2 separate regions of the Homo sapiens genome follow, and region 1 is linked to region 2. The links are contacts of gene promoters, found by promoter capture Hi-C in human tissues and cell types (Jung and others, 2019). All regions are on one chromosome and are shown on one strand. Each heading gives the region's core, a stretch centred on a gene start or on the middle of the fragment in contact. The rest is flanking DNA. Distances are from core to core; before and after follow the strand shown. Region 1 has its middle 21 kb from the start of CAMK1G. Region 2 holds the start of G0S2 (G0/G1 switch 2).

Region 1 (7,357 bases), core at 695-3,194, 110 kb after region 2:
TGCTGCGGTTGGTGCACCCATCTGGGTCCAGACCCATAGCCACTGGGGGCAGTGGCATGAGTCTTCACGGAGCGTCTTATTCTTGATACTCATCGTATTCTCCCTGCCCAGAGGTATGCTCTGCCAGCTCTCTTCTTTGCTTGCTCCTTTTTCTCCTCTGCTATTTCTCCTTCTTCCCGTCCCCCTCATACTCTCTCCTGTACCTCCATATCTGACTGTGAGTCAGGTGGATGGCTCATGAGTCAGCAGGGCCAGTACTGGGGATGTGAGGGGTTAGGTGTGAAAGACACAGCAGATCCCGTCCCTTCGGAGTTTATAGTCGTGGAAAGACAGACCCACAGAGGCAGAACTTAGAGAAAGAAGACAGGAAAGCACTGAAATCATGTTCTCTGGGCCATAGGATACATGCAGGTTTCAACCTCGATTCAACCTTGGCAAAGGCTCTCTAGTTGTTCAGGACTTCCCCATCATGAGCTTTCTGGAAGGCACCTCTTCCATGTCCAAACATGCTGCAGGGTTTCGCGAGATAGAGCCCATCCCTATACCCAAGAGACAAGCAGTGGATTTCTTGATTTGGCTGTGAGGGGGCAGCTCAGCTCAGCTCATCCAAGAGGTCTCACATAAGCCTTCTTGTGGTATTCTATAATCCATTCTTCCACCTACCTGAACCATTCCAAGGCTCTGTGACCCAAGGATGACCCAGATTTGAGTCCAGCCTCCTAGTACCACTCCATCCACAGGTGGAACTCAGCCAGGTTCTAAATCAGCCCGGCTCCATGACCCCAGATACTAGCTTAGCCTTCTGAGAAGGAAGCCATTTCCTGCTGCTCTGCTGCCAGGAGCCAGGATGCCCCATCCGGAACTGGGTGTGGGGAGATGAGAGGCACCATTAGCAGCCATGGCTACACTGGCATTAGGAGATTAATGAGGCTTTTTGAATAACAAATGTAGCTTCAGCCAACTGTTGGCAATTAGTTAGAGCAAAGCCATGCTGTGCTCTGACTCTGTCAGCTGGGACCTCCAAAGGAGCATTACAGCAGGAAGGACTAGACCGGGAGGGAAAGAGTTGAAATTCTACCTTCCACATTCCAGGCCGGCCCTGTAGGTGTACAGTGACCCTGGGCTAAGTCTTCTCGTAACCGTCTTTATCTGAGATCATGTTGAGAGACATGTAAAGCAATGAGGGGCCTTGAGAGATCATTTTGTCTACCAGCCTGCCTCCACTCAGGACCACACAGCAGTGCTTCTCGAGGTTTAATTTGTATATAGGTCTCCTTGGAACCTTGCTCCCAGGTGACTGCTGATGTTGCTGGTCCAGGAACTACTTTGAATAGCAAGACCCACGAGAGAGAGAGAGAGAGAGAGAGAGAGAGAGAGGACAGAGAGACAGAGAGAGGAGAGAGACAGAGATGTGGGCAGGGGAGCATGCTTTGGAGCCCAGAGCACATTTATTTCATTAAGTTGAGATTTTAGTCTTTATAATTCATTCATCATTTACTTCATCATTCATTCAACAGCATCTACTCTGCTAGGCAACTGAATTCACATGTATTGGTACAGAGAGAAGGGTGAAAATAGTTTGGAGTAACCAGAGAGTCTCCTGGGACAGGAGGAGAAGCCTGGGGAAAGCAGAGTGGGTGCAGGACTGGGCCCCCAGGGTGGGCCTAGCTGCAGGCTAGCAGATGCTGCTGTACTCCTCCCTTCCAGGAAGGCCCTACCAAAGCTGCAGTGACTACAGGCCCAAAGCCAAGGCACACAGTGGACAGGGAGAAGTAATGCTCACATCATCTTCTCTTTAAGAAAGAAAATGCATCTTAAAAGCAGTAGGAGCTAATTTGCTCTTCTGTAATCAATCACCCAGTACAGGAAATAAAAACACAGGGAGATTCTAGGCAGGCAGGCAGGCAGGCAGGGGGACTCTGTAGAGAGGATGGTCTTCACTTCATGGGTTTAACAAAATAAATCTTAAGGACATGTGGCATGAACATGTGTATGTTTGGGTATGAGGAGGTGTGTATGTGGAGGGCCATGTTTAAAGTGGTGCCAATCTTCTCCAGGCTTCCAAACAGTCTCGCCTCATCTTGCCTGTCTTTTGATCTATATGTGGGTAGCGGGGAATTATTTCAATTAAGGCTTCTCTGAGCTCTTACCTCTAGAAAAGGAAAATGGTCATGTGCGGTGGCTTACACCTGTAATCCCAGCACTTTGCGGGGCTGAGGCTGGTGGATCACTTAAGGTCAGGAGTTCAAGACCAGCCTGGCCAACATGGTGAAACCCCATTTCTACTAAAAACATAAAAATTAGCCAGGTGTGCTGGTGCATGCTGTAGTCCCAGCTACTCGGGAGGCTGAGGCAGGAGAATTGCTTGAACCTGGGAGGTAGGGGCTGCAGTGAGCTGAGATTGTGCCACTGCACTCCAGCTTGGGCGACAGAGGGAGACTCTGTCTCAAAAAAAAAAAAAAAAGGGAAAAACATCCAGATGTCACCCTGGAAACAAGGAGCTTAGATTTACCTCCACCTTTCAGCTCATCGCTGGCTACCTTCTGTTCCCTCCCGAGCCTTGGCTTCCCTGTCTGTAGAATGGGGAGATTCTCACTCTTCCCTCTCTGTCCCACACCACTGAGGTGAGGAAAACGACAGTGTTACTAAACCTGGTGTAAGGTAAGCTCCAGGGGAACCTAGTGCTTGGGCTATTTCCATCTGAGCCTTGGGGTTGGGATGAGAACAGCCCACGACAGTGTTAGACGGTGGCTGTGGAAACAGCACCCCTTGGGAATGCCATACGGTGTGGCACGCGTTTTCTAACTGTTCCATCCCCACTGCTCAAAGAAGTGCCCCAGCCAGGTCCCTTTCTCATTTGCTGTCTTTCCTTCCCTGTCTTTTCTTCCTTTTTTTCTCCCTCTCCCTCATACTGTTTCTTTTATCCCTGTATCTATTGTGACTATAGTTTCCAAATTAAAAATTTGGACATAGCCTGACAATACATCAGAGTATTTGAGACATGGACATCCACAGGCATTCTGGGATGGGTGAGCTAAACACCCCTCTCCATGTGCTGCCTCCTCTGCCTGTGTCTGCTCTGGGCTCCAACTCCACGGTCATATGACAACATGTTGGGGTCAATGTGATGCCAAATGCCCAGATGTTTAGAAATATCCGGATGGTAGATTTAATGTTTACTGTTTTGTATATTCTGAGTGCCCTGTGCACACAATTCAGTAAAAACAAATACATGAATAAATTTTAAAAACCTCTGCAACCCAAGCAGTGAGTTGTTTAGCATCTTGTCTTCAAAACAAGTGGTAGAGATTGGGTTTTTTTCCTTCCTCCTGGCATTATTTTGGTGGTATCCAATGCAGACTTCATATAAGCCATCTCTGACCAAACTCTCTGAATACCTTCCTAGGAAGAGACTCTTCTATGCAAAGAACCCCATTGTTTGGTTTCCTGAAGCCACATGGTCTGTATAACAGTGAATGTGGTCCCTGGTTCAAATCCCTACCACATCATCCATCTGTCCATCCACCCACCCACCTGCTTTTTCTTCATTCCTTCCCTCCCTCCCTTTTCCCCTTGCTCCCTTTTTCCCTCCTTCTCTCCTTCCAAACTTATATGTCCCCTACACACCCTGCACTGTGCTAGATACTGATCCTTGTCTGCTAGGACTCGGGGTTTATTGGGTAAGACAGACATGCACACAGCAGTTGTAGAACATGTTCAAGTGCAATTCTTCCCCAGACCTGTCTCCGGATATTTTCACCTTCTCTTCCTGACTTCATGTCCCATGCCCCCACCAGCTTCCCTGCACCCCCTGTGTTTCCAGGGTGGGAGCTCAAAACATATTAGAGAAGAGCCACTCCTTTGTAGCAGGGAGATTTCCTTCCCAAACACATGTGGGTGTCTAGAAGAAAGAGAGATTTATACCCACAAGTTTGAATGGTGTCCTTTTCTCTCCTCTCTCTCTGGAACACCTAGTTCATGTTTCCCCACAGAACAGCAGGCCTCCTGCCATGGAAGGCAGCACCTCTCATCTAGGGTGGGGGATATTTCTTCCTGCAGAATGTCCTCCCCTTGCATCCCCACCCCCACGTGGGAGCAGATGGACAGGGGGACGGAGCCAGTTGTTTGTTTCAGTTCTGGCTGGTGTCGGCCTGGTGGGAGAGTGTAACCAAGAAGAGAGAAGGCTTGTGGCTTTGGGAGCTTAATTAAACATATTTACAAAGTCCAGGCCTGGTGAGCTAGTGAGGAACAATGAGACAGAGGATGGTATTGCATTATAAGATTAATAAACCAATTAAAGAAAGACTGCAGTGGCCTGGTGGCCCCACTGGGGCAGAAGGCGAATTTGACAGCTGCTCTTTTTTGATGATTGCCACAAATTTCGGAAGAAAAGACAGCCTGGGCTTCCCCTAGTCCACGAGAGAATACCCCAGGCTGTTGTCCTGTCTAATCGCTCAGACTGCTAGTCAAGTTGTTTTCCAAGCCTGTAGGTTGGATGTCATGTTTAGTCAACTGGGGGAAAACAACAACAACAACAACAAAACCCCAACAAAACAAAAGCTACTTCTTCTCTAATCCTAAAAAAAAAAAAAAAAAAGCACACACATGAGACCATTTATATTTTCTCGGAACGCACCATTCCCAGGAAGAGTGGGATAGGATAGGCAGGGGAATTTGGGGAGCTCCTGCAGGCAGTTCACAGAAGAGCCTCGCTGGGGAGGGCCTGCCTCCCGTGGGTCTGTCTCTTGCCCGTTCTATCAACGTTAGCATGCTGCTCCACAGCTCTGGTTCTCTTGTAATCAGATTACTGTTAGAATTTTTGCACATGTTACATTATGTTTAAATGACTGCCCCTTGCCATTGCCTGGGACATAATTAGTAAAAACAGGCCCTTATGCAAAGTCCAATGAAGACCCTGACTTTATGAAGCAACAAAACAAGCGCCTCGACTCATTAACCATAGGCCATAGGCCTCTCTTTTCGCACGACCTCCCCTCCTCATTAACATTATTTTCTCAAGACCCCTAAAGGCATGTGCCTTTCCTAAACACTCCTGGGCCAGGGCCCAAAAGCTCCTGCTCAAAACCAGGAGAGAGGCTGTGAACACAGTTTCCCTACACGATGGGAAGTGTGAGTTAGAAGCCCGCACCTTCAGTGATAGCCAAAAAAGCATAAGACAGTGTGTTGGGGCTCCTTTCCCTTGCTTAGCTGTACCAGCCCTGGGAGCTCAGGGGCCCCAGTGTTCGTGGCATCAGCTGCCTAGGCTTGGTTTTCACAGCTGTCAGACTGCTCCTATCAGGAGCTGAAAGGATGCTAAGATGGCCATGCAAGTTTCAGAAAAGGTTCTGGGTATTTCAGTTCCTTCATTTGAAAAAAAAGAAAAAGAAAAAAAAGGGGGATAGTAACATAGTAAAATCAATTCTGCCCACTTTATAACATTGGCAGAGAAGCAAGGCGAATAATGTACTTGGAGACTTCTAGGTAAACATGACTATTTGTTGTTATCAGGCAGTGCCTTAATTCCTTCCTATCTGGAATAAAATAAGGAATGAATGACTCAGACTGACTTGGGTCTTACCAATTGTGATCGTGGCAACTTGTTGGGACTCTCAGACCCTCATTTTTAAATGGGAATGACAATGCTTGAGGTCGAAATGTGGCTTTTGGCATCATGATGAGGTTTTTGTCCCTTCCTAGCTGCTTAGTCTTGCAAGATTTATATTCTTATCTGAAAAATGAGATAATTCCCACCTCATAGGATTATTCTAGAAATTGATTAAATCGTTTATGTAAAGTTTCCAGCTCTGTGTCTGGTACATAGTAAATGCTTAGTGTAATAATAACCACATATAAAAATAATCTTTTCTTTTTCTTTTTTCTTTATTGAGACAGGGTCTTTCTCCGTTGCCCAGGCTGGAGTGCAGTGACAGGATCACAGCTCACTGCAGCCTCAACCTCCCGGGTTCAAGCAATCCTCCCACCTCAGCCTCCTGAGTAGCTGGGACTACAGTCACACACCACCACACCCAGCTAATTTTTGTATTGTTTGTAGAGATGGGGTTTCCCCATGTTGCCGAGGAGGGTCTTGAATTCTTGAGCTCAAATGATCTGCTTGCCTCTTCCTCCCAAAGTACTGGGATTATAGGCGTGAGCCACCTGGCCCAGACAATAATCTTGATTTTTCTTGTTAATAAATGAGATTATTTAGACAGCATCCTGCACAGTATCTAGCACATGGCAGATATTCAATAAATAAAGGTTTCCACCTTCTCTCCTTCCTAAATAAATGAAACCAGTCCATATAATAAAAAACCTGGCCCAACTCAGTTTTCTTTTGAACAGAAAGGCTATTGCAGCATAGAATGGTTAGAGCCTGAGAAGGTCACATACCTTTAAAAACTGCTCCACAGGGTCACTGCTTTCTCCAGGAGAAAAGAAATGGACGTAAGAGGCCGGGCACCATGGCTCACGGCTGTAATCCCAACATTTTGGGAGGCTGAGGCGGGTGGATCATGAGGTCAGGAGATCGAGACCATCCTGGCCAACATGGTGAAACCCCATCTTTACTAAAAATACAAAAATTAGCCGAGCGTGGTGGCATGCGTCTGTAATCCCAGCTACTCAGGAGGCTGAGGAAGGAGAATCACTTGAACCTGAGAGCCAGAGGTTGCAGTGAGCCGAGATCATGCCACTGCACTCCAGCCTGGGCAACAGAGTGAGACTCTGTCTGCAAAAGAAAAAAAAAAGAAATGGCCATAAGGAATGAAGTGGGAGGAACAAGGACAGAAAAATCACAACTCCACAGGAAGCACGGGGCTGGCCTCTCCTGGGCCTTCTCCCCATGCTCAAAGACAGTGCCTTTCAGTTTTCCTCACATGCCTCTGAAAGTACTCTGAAAGTCTATGTAGCTCCTCAAACATCTTTAAGCTAACATCTACAATTTTCTCCATTAAGTTTGGAATCATTCCAAAAGGTATAATTTCAGGGTATTATAAGTACTGACTCTTTAAAATGAAACCATTACTACTTGTTCAATGTATTCAATGGAATTGGAATATTATAGTGATCTATCATCGTCCTTTAAAAACTATGTGAAACTGTTCTCTATTATTTCAATTTGTTTTTTTTTTTTTTGAAGTTTTGTACAGGCAGGGTCTCCCAGTGTTGCTCAGGCTGGTCTTGAACTCCTGGTTTCAAGAAATCCTCCCACCTTGGCCTCCCAAAGTGCTGGGATTACAGGTGTGAGCTACCATGCCCAGCCTCAAACTGCTATTTAACATTGAGAAATTTTATTTCATTCTCTAATCTTCTTAAACTCACTTTTGTATTCTAACTCCCACAGAATTTTATTCTAATG
Region 2 (7,292 bases), core at 653-3,152:
AGTTGGCAGAAATGAAATGGAGATGTGTGTAGGGCATTGGACGAAGGAGAGAGTCTGAGCAGAGGCAATGGTGTGAGCCAGTGATATGTTTGGCAAAAATGCATAGCTGTTGATGAAAGGAGTAAAGTGTCAGTACCTGATTAGGACAGGTGACATGAAAAATGTGAGGAGACTAGCATCAAGGCCATGCCTCTGGCTCCTGGCTACTTCTTTAAAGTTTAAAATTTGTTTTGCTGAGCCCTATAGAGTCACTGAATTAGCTATTACTACAGATGAAGCTCTGTACACTGGAGGAGGAGGACTCAGATATGTAACAACCGGTTTTTTTCTCTTTCTAGCCCAGAGTTTCTTACTATGATCTGGATTCGTGGGGAGGAAGGCTGGGTAGAGCTAGACTCATCATCTGCTTTGGTGTTCTTGGGAGCTTATCTCTTTTCCTGCCAGGTAGATAGTTTTTCCTTTCTTTCCTTCCCTTCACCTCCAGACCTCCCTCCTTCATTTTCTTTCCTTCTCTCTGTCTGTCTGTCTAAAATATAGTTGGGAAGAAAAAGGTATCAGCCATGGGAACCTCTGGTGCACAGGTGTAAGGAACAAAGAGCTTTTCTGCCTTAGAATTAATCAGTTATCTCCTACTCACTGTAGCTCAGAAGTTGATCTACCTTTTGATGTTAAAATGCTAAATCTCACGGAAGTTATAAAATTTTCTCTCTTCCCACCCCTAACAAGAAGGAAAAACAAGTCCTCAACAGACTTATATGCATGTAGTAACTTATTACACAGTTCCTAGGTGTGAAGCAAGTGTCTGACCCTCAGGAAGCTGCTCCCTCTGCAGTGCTCAGGTAAGAACCCATCACCATCGCCCACCTGCTCACCCTCCCTGCTTCCCACCCCAGGACACCACACCTCTCAGGAATTACATGAGATATGGTATAAAAAGTTTTTTTATTTCAAAATGCAAAATGGTGGTCATTGTAATAATTAATAATAATAACATAAAAAGCATTTATCCTTCCTCCCTAGTGCAAAATGGTAGACGCATTTAGATAATTCACACAGTGTTGGAAATGTCATGACAATGCAGTGCTGCACAGCAGCAAAACTCAATCCCAAACTCCTTTGGTGGATGCTTGTGGTAGGTCAGTTCTAGATGTCAGCGGTTTCTCTGAAGTTAAGTCCAAATAAAAAACAGCACGTGCTCCTGCACTCTCCCAGCGGAGTCAGGCTCCTGTGCGCGCGCCCCCTCTGTCTCTCCATTCCTCTCTCGGTCTGTCTCTGTCTACTGCGTCTCCCTCCCACTCCGCTGGTCTCCCACAGTTCCTAGGAGGCGTGCTGCCGGTTGGACAGGGCCCGGCCGCCGAGGACCGTGTCCTGCTGCTTGCCTTTCTCCTGCAGGGCTTGCTTCTGGAGAGCCTGTCGCTCCAGGGCGGCCTGCAGCTCCGCCACGGCTGCCTCCTGGTCCCGCAGACGTCTGGCGGCCGTGAAGGGGCTGCACACAGTCTCCATCAGGCCGAGCACCACGCCGAAGAGGGCCAGCACGCTGCCCAGCACGTACAGCTTCACCATCTTCCCCTTGCGCTTCTGGGCCATCATCTCCTTGGCCAGGGGGATCAGCTCCTGGACCGTTTCCATCTCGGCTCTGGGCTCTCGGAGGCGGGAATGACCTGCAGGAGGAGCAGCAGGAGAGGGGCTTCAGCCACCAAAGAACGGCTCCCACCACCCCGCACCCAGCTAATCTTGGGGAGGGCTCATAGAAAGGCGGACTACCTTAGTGGCACGGCGCGAGCAGGAGGCAGCGCGAGCTGCAGTTGGCAGCGGTCAGCGCGTCCGTTGGTCCGACCGACCTCAGCGTTCTCCTCCTCTCGGCAGCTGCAGCTCTCCCAGTTGGAGACTCCGCCGCTGGCACCGCTTTAGCGTCCGGGGGCCGCTTATATCTTTTCTCTGAGACACGCCTCCTGGGCTCTCCGGCCCAGGCCAGCGCGGTCAGAGCCAGGGGAACTCGGAGGGGGAGGAAGAAGAGGAGGGGAAAAGGAGGGGGTGGAACCCGGCTGGGACCTGGCAGGAGGTGGCCACGCGCTGAGCACGCTCCGACTGTGTGAGCTAGGGGGCCCGGCGCGGGTGCCATCGCAGCGGGGCGCGTGGGAAGGCCAGTGTGCACGCGAAGGTCCCACTCCAGGCGAGCGCAGGGGAGGACCCGGAGCCCAGGGAGGTGTCCGCGGACATCTCTGACATGGCGGCAACCTTCTTACTGGTGTCAGCGGGTGCACAGCTTCCCTTGTCCAGGACAGCCTGACATTATAAATAATGAGGGAATTTGGGGGTTCCATCTAAAGAAGAAAGCTTTCATTTTTATTCGGAAGGGTTGTCACCTTCCCACGTGTGTGGCAATGGATCAGAGAGGAGAAGGCAAGGGGGAAGGATCTGGGTAACAGGACAGAACAGGTTACGCTTGGATAAAGCAATATGTGCTAATATTGTTTCTTTCCTGCCTGGTTGGTTTTATTTAGAGGTACATGCATGTATAACTAGAGTCAGTTGATAGAAAACTATTCATTGATGGTGCTTTTATGCACAGAGGTGTGTGTGTGTGTGTGTGTGTGTGTGTGAGAGAGAGAGAGAGAGAGAGAGAGAGAGAGAAAGAGAGAGAGATTAGTCTCTTTGCCTGCGAGCTGTTTCCTTATGTACTTCCGTGTATCAGGGAAGAGCCTTCAAATTCAAATTGTTCTCACTTCCACTTGAGAAGTGGAGTTGGGAGCTTGGGGGTAGGGGGTCAAGTATGGAAGGGGCTGTTGGTAGAAGTTCATCTGCCATTTTAGAATGGAAGTATTTCATGCTCTCCTCAATAATTCTCTGCCACCCTCCTGGGTTTGGGGGTACAACTTCACTGCTCCAGCTCAACTTCAGCTTTGAAGCAGTTTGTGGGCAGAAGGGCGTGTAGTAGACAGCTTAGGTAAGAATCCAGAGTGTGAGTACTCTTGGACGTGTGAAGATGTAGGATTGATTTTGACCAGGGTTAGCTGTAATCACCTGGGGCTGAGGGAGCGTTCTAGTTTGGCTTTGGTTATGGATATGCTAGAGTTAGCAAACTTGGGGAAAAAGAGAGGCAAATTGGCCAAAGGGTTAGCAAACTTGGGGAAAAGGAGAGGCAAATTGGCCAAAGGCCTTTAAGCAGAGAAAGGGAGGGGGCAGGGGAAAGAAGGGGAAATCAAACTGGCCAGAAAATTGCAAAGGTCAGTGATGCAATCTTGCAACAGCCTTTGCAGTCGGTCGGACTGAGCCCTGAAGGGCGGGTCGGGGGAAAAGGCTGTCTCAGGGATCAAATATTTTAGTTTTTGAATTGTTAACAGTAATCTTTCTTTGGGGGTCTGAAGCAATTTCTCAGATGATTCAGTTTAAAAAGGCAGCAATAACAACTACCCTTTGCCTTGACTATTAATAGTTCAGGCAAGGGCTTGTGTGTGGAGAATGGTCAAGGTTATCTAAATAGCTTATTTGAAATTCTATGTTTTAGAATTTAGTCTGAGTGAAGGTGACCAGGGGCCAAATAGAATTGATTATTCCTGGAGGACTGTGTTTCCTGCTTATTGTTCTTTTAACCTTGTCAGGCAGGAAAATTCTGTAACAAGGGTTCCTGCCAAGTTTAATATCAGTCTTGGCATTTTCTTTGAATCTTCCTTATAGTTTCAGAGCAACCTCTGATAACTGGCAGAAATGATTAGTGAGCTTTCCCAATATCTGTGAGGGTTCCAAACCCATTGACTTCTGGAAGAGCATGTGATGTGTGCCCTGATATAAGGGCTGTCACGTGGTTTCCATTCTGAAGGTGAGTCAGCCTAGCTTGGGACCCAAAATTCTGAAATTGACTGGTCCAGTAAGCATTTCCTGTGTTTCTGTAACTCAGAGACGCAAACCACACGTCTTCCTAGGTCAGAAGGCTGTAATTTACCTGGGGTTCCCCTTTCCTGTGATTTGCTGTGTTAGTGCACATCACCAGCTCAGTTCCTTTTTTTGATAATTTGACTTTGACCTCCAGGTTCCAGCAGCTATATTGGTAAGAGCTGGACAGAGGAGGGGCAGCAAGTGCCATGGACGGAGGTCACTGGTAGACTTGATCTTCCTAGTTTAGGTGGTAGCTGGGGCTGAGCAGGAGATGATGGGAGTAGAAGGCTAAGGAATCCAGTGTTAACTCATGTCTAGGAATTTCTGAGTGCAGCTCCTCTGTCTGGGTGGGAAAAGAGAACCTGGCTCCTAGGGTAGAAGGTGACTAGGTAGGGCTTGGAAACTAAACATATATTTTAGTGGGGCTGATGTCATTTTTAGGGAAGTAAAGCACTGTGTTGTGTCATGCATGCAGGTAAGATACAGGTTATAGCGATGATGGTCAAACCAAGCCATAGGGTGACCAACCATCTTATTTTGCTCAGGGTTGAGGGGTTCTCTGAAATGCAGGACTCCTGCTAAAACTGAGCACTAAAACTGAGATACTTCCAGGCAAACTGAAACACTTCCAGGCAAACTGAAATAGTCATCCTACCCTTGAGTCTATCTCAACATTTAACTCTTGCCACTTCTAGGAAGGTAGGAAGGACTAGTTTAAAATTTTTATATTTTGCTTTCTAAATCCCTTTCTCTCAGACATTAAGACATTCAGAGCCATCTGCAGAGGGTAAAGTCACAAAGGGGTGCATGTGTTTCAAGGGTTAAGTGCAGAGGAGGGATAGAACTGTCCCTACCCCTCTGCCTTGGGGATTGAAGACACAGGGGAAAGAGGTCTTTTGGATGGTTAGTTGTAAATGAGCTTCAATAATAATTGTTATTGTTACAATTATTATAATATAATAATAACAATAATAATTATTATTTTGTTACCGGCTGCTTGCTGCCTACACAAAGTCACTGCCCACCCCTGGGGCTCCAGGCAGCTGAAGGGAGGGAGTCATCATAGGAGATATGACAAAACTATTTGTAGTTTTAAGACTACCGCACTAGAAATTTTTTTTAGACCCTTAGTTACTTTCATAGTTTTAGAAAGGAAGTTGCTTATCACTCGGATATCAGTGGAAGACACTGAAATTTATATGTGTAGCCACTGTCTCCTCTGGTCTTATAGACTAGAGTTCTAGAGTCTAAATATTTCTGTGTGGATACACTGCTATTATCACAGCTTGACACACTTAAAACAAGACTCCTTACCTTCTCTATACTCTTACAAGCTAAGTCTTCTTCTCAATATCCTTATTTCTAGCAGTGACATCTCCGTTTCATTTGTTCTCTGGGCTTGAAATATCATGGAAGTTATTTGGAGAGGCCTTCCCTGACTACTGCATCCCACCACTCTCCACCCAGTGCCCTACTTTCTTTTTCTTCATAGCACTTGGTTACCTGATTCTATGTGGATGTACTTAATGGTGTGGTTTTATATTGTCTTCCATGTGCGTTGGAGGATAGGCTTCATGAGGATAGGGACTTTGGTTTGCTCCTCACTGTGTCCCCAGTGCCCAGTATAATTCTTAGCACATAATAGGTCCTTAATGGGTAACTATGGGATTAATGAATGGCTTTTCCATGGACTGTGAAGCCTGGCAGGGAAGGGACTGTTTTTTGTTTGTTTGTTTGTTTGTTTTTGAATGCAGTCCAACTTTTAGTAGATGCTTAAAGAAGCATTCAGGTTTTTGAGGGGACAGTTTTTTTGCTTTTAATCCTTTCTCCTCTAATCCATCTTAAACACTACCACCAAATGAATCTTCCTAAAATTTAATTTTTTATTGTCAACTGCCTGTTTAAAGGCCAAGATCATTTCTCATTGCCCACATAATGGACTCCTGGATCCTGCATGTTGAATTTGCTTGATTTAGTATTCTTGGAATTCAGGCTCTCTATGGTCCGATCTTCTCCTGTTCTTCTCCCACAATAGCCCTTTGCTCCACAGAGAGGTTTCTTCACAGGCCAAGAAACAATTCATTCGCATTGCTGCTGCTTCATTTATTTTTGCTCACACAGTTGTTTCTACCTGAAATGCTGTCCTCTTTCTACTTTGTCTTCCTTTCTTCCTTGAGGTCAAGTTCAATTTCCTGTGCTCCAAGAAGCTACCACTGCCCATGGCAGCACACCTTGATCTCTCCTTTCTGTGAATTTCAGTTGCCTTTGGGGCTTGTACTCTACAGGCTGGCACTGGATGGATTACCGTTTTGTACAACTCTGTCATTGTTTCCTGTGGGCTTGCCTCAGCTCTGTGGAAGACAAAAGCTTTGTATCTTTCATGGTGTTAACATAGAATAGGAGGCTAATCAATATTAGTTACATTGACCTAAAAGTCAGTGCTGAGATAGAGAGGGCAAAGTGACCAGTTAAGGCTCTCTTGGGAAGTTATTTCAAGCACAGTAGCCTGTCCTTGGCTCAGAGCCTTGGTGTTGAAATTGCCCAAGACCTGGCAACTTGGCTTAGTTTCCTCCACTCTGGTCTCCTCACCTTTCACTTCCACTCCCAACTTAGTGTCTGACATTGTAGCCATTGGCTCACTCTGGGCACCCTCCAGCCTGCCCGTGGTACAAATCAAGGCAAAGGAACAGACTTTATAGGCATTCTGCTTTTGTCCTTCATAACTTTTGGTCAAGCAGAGCCACCAGCTGCTGGGGCATGCAGACTGTGCTGGAAGCCTTGAATAGCCATGGGTGGTGTGGTTAGAATTACCTGCACCCTGCTGCCTACATACCACTTCCAGATTAAACAATATACTTTACAAGTTTGAGTCAGCACAAGGAATTTTCCCCAAGCTCAAATGCCAATTGGTCTTAAGGGTATAGGGCTCTAAAGTCAAGCAAACCTGGGTTCCTCCAAATCCTGACTCCTCCATTTGCTAAGGCCTGACCTTGGGCAAGTGACTTAACTTCTATAACTTCTACTTCCGTATCTGTGAAGTGAGAGTTATGATAGCCCCTATTAAATGGGGTGTGGTGATGATGATAAGCCCCTATGAAACAGATATGATGAAGAGTGAATGAGATAGAGCTCTGTAAGGGACTTAGGCAGTTTCTGGCACAAATGAAGCAATCATTAAATGATGGCTGTTATTATTCAATTGTCTTTGCCTCTTGCTCTACGTCGGCAATTTCCATGATGCTTTATCCCAGCCCGGGACATTTGCATTCCTTAGGTGACATTTAGGTAGCTTCTAGTAAGGTCCAAAAATATTTGTTGAAGCCAGCCATGTACCTGACACTGTGTTAAGCATAGTTATAGGAAGCAGAATGTGTGATGGCTCACACCTGTAATCCCAGCACTTTGGGAGGACAAGA

What was found. Contacts are between HindIII fragments. The study calls those that stand out against the background at their distance.
Region 1: a contact is called between a fragment that was not itself captured here and the fragment with the promoter of G0S2 in region 2, in 3 of the 25 tissues and cell types used here (H1 embryonic stem cells, heart left ventricle and hippocampus).

The regions. Positions count from the first base shown.
Region 1 is chr1:209,558,610-209,565,966 of GRCh38, reverse strand. No RefSeq gene overlaps it. Among named protein-coding and RNA genes, the nearest start is that of CAMK1G, 21 kb to the left of the region's middle. The HindIII fragment of the contact is 8,724 bases long and covers 1-6,306 here.
Region 2 is chr1:209,670,022-209,677,313 of GRCh38, reverse strand. It overlaps G0S2 (G0/G1 switch 2), which reads right to left and starts at 1,902. Exons shown (of 2, transcript NM_015714.4): 1 at 1,765-1,902; 2 at 924-1,661. The coding sequence starts at 1,629. The coding sequence ends at 1,318. All of the region lies in intron 1 of HSD11B1-AS1 (HSD11B1 antisense RNA 1), which reads left to right. RefSeq lists enhancers at 942-1,790, 4,071-4,310. The HindIII fragment of the contact is 8,087 bases long and covers 1-4,290 here.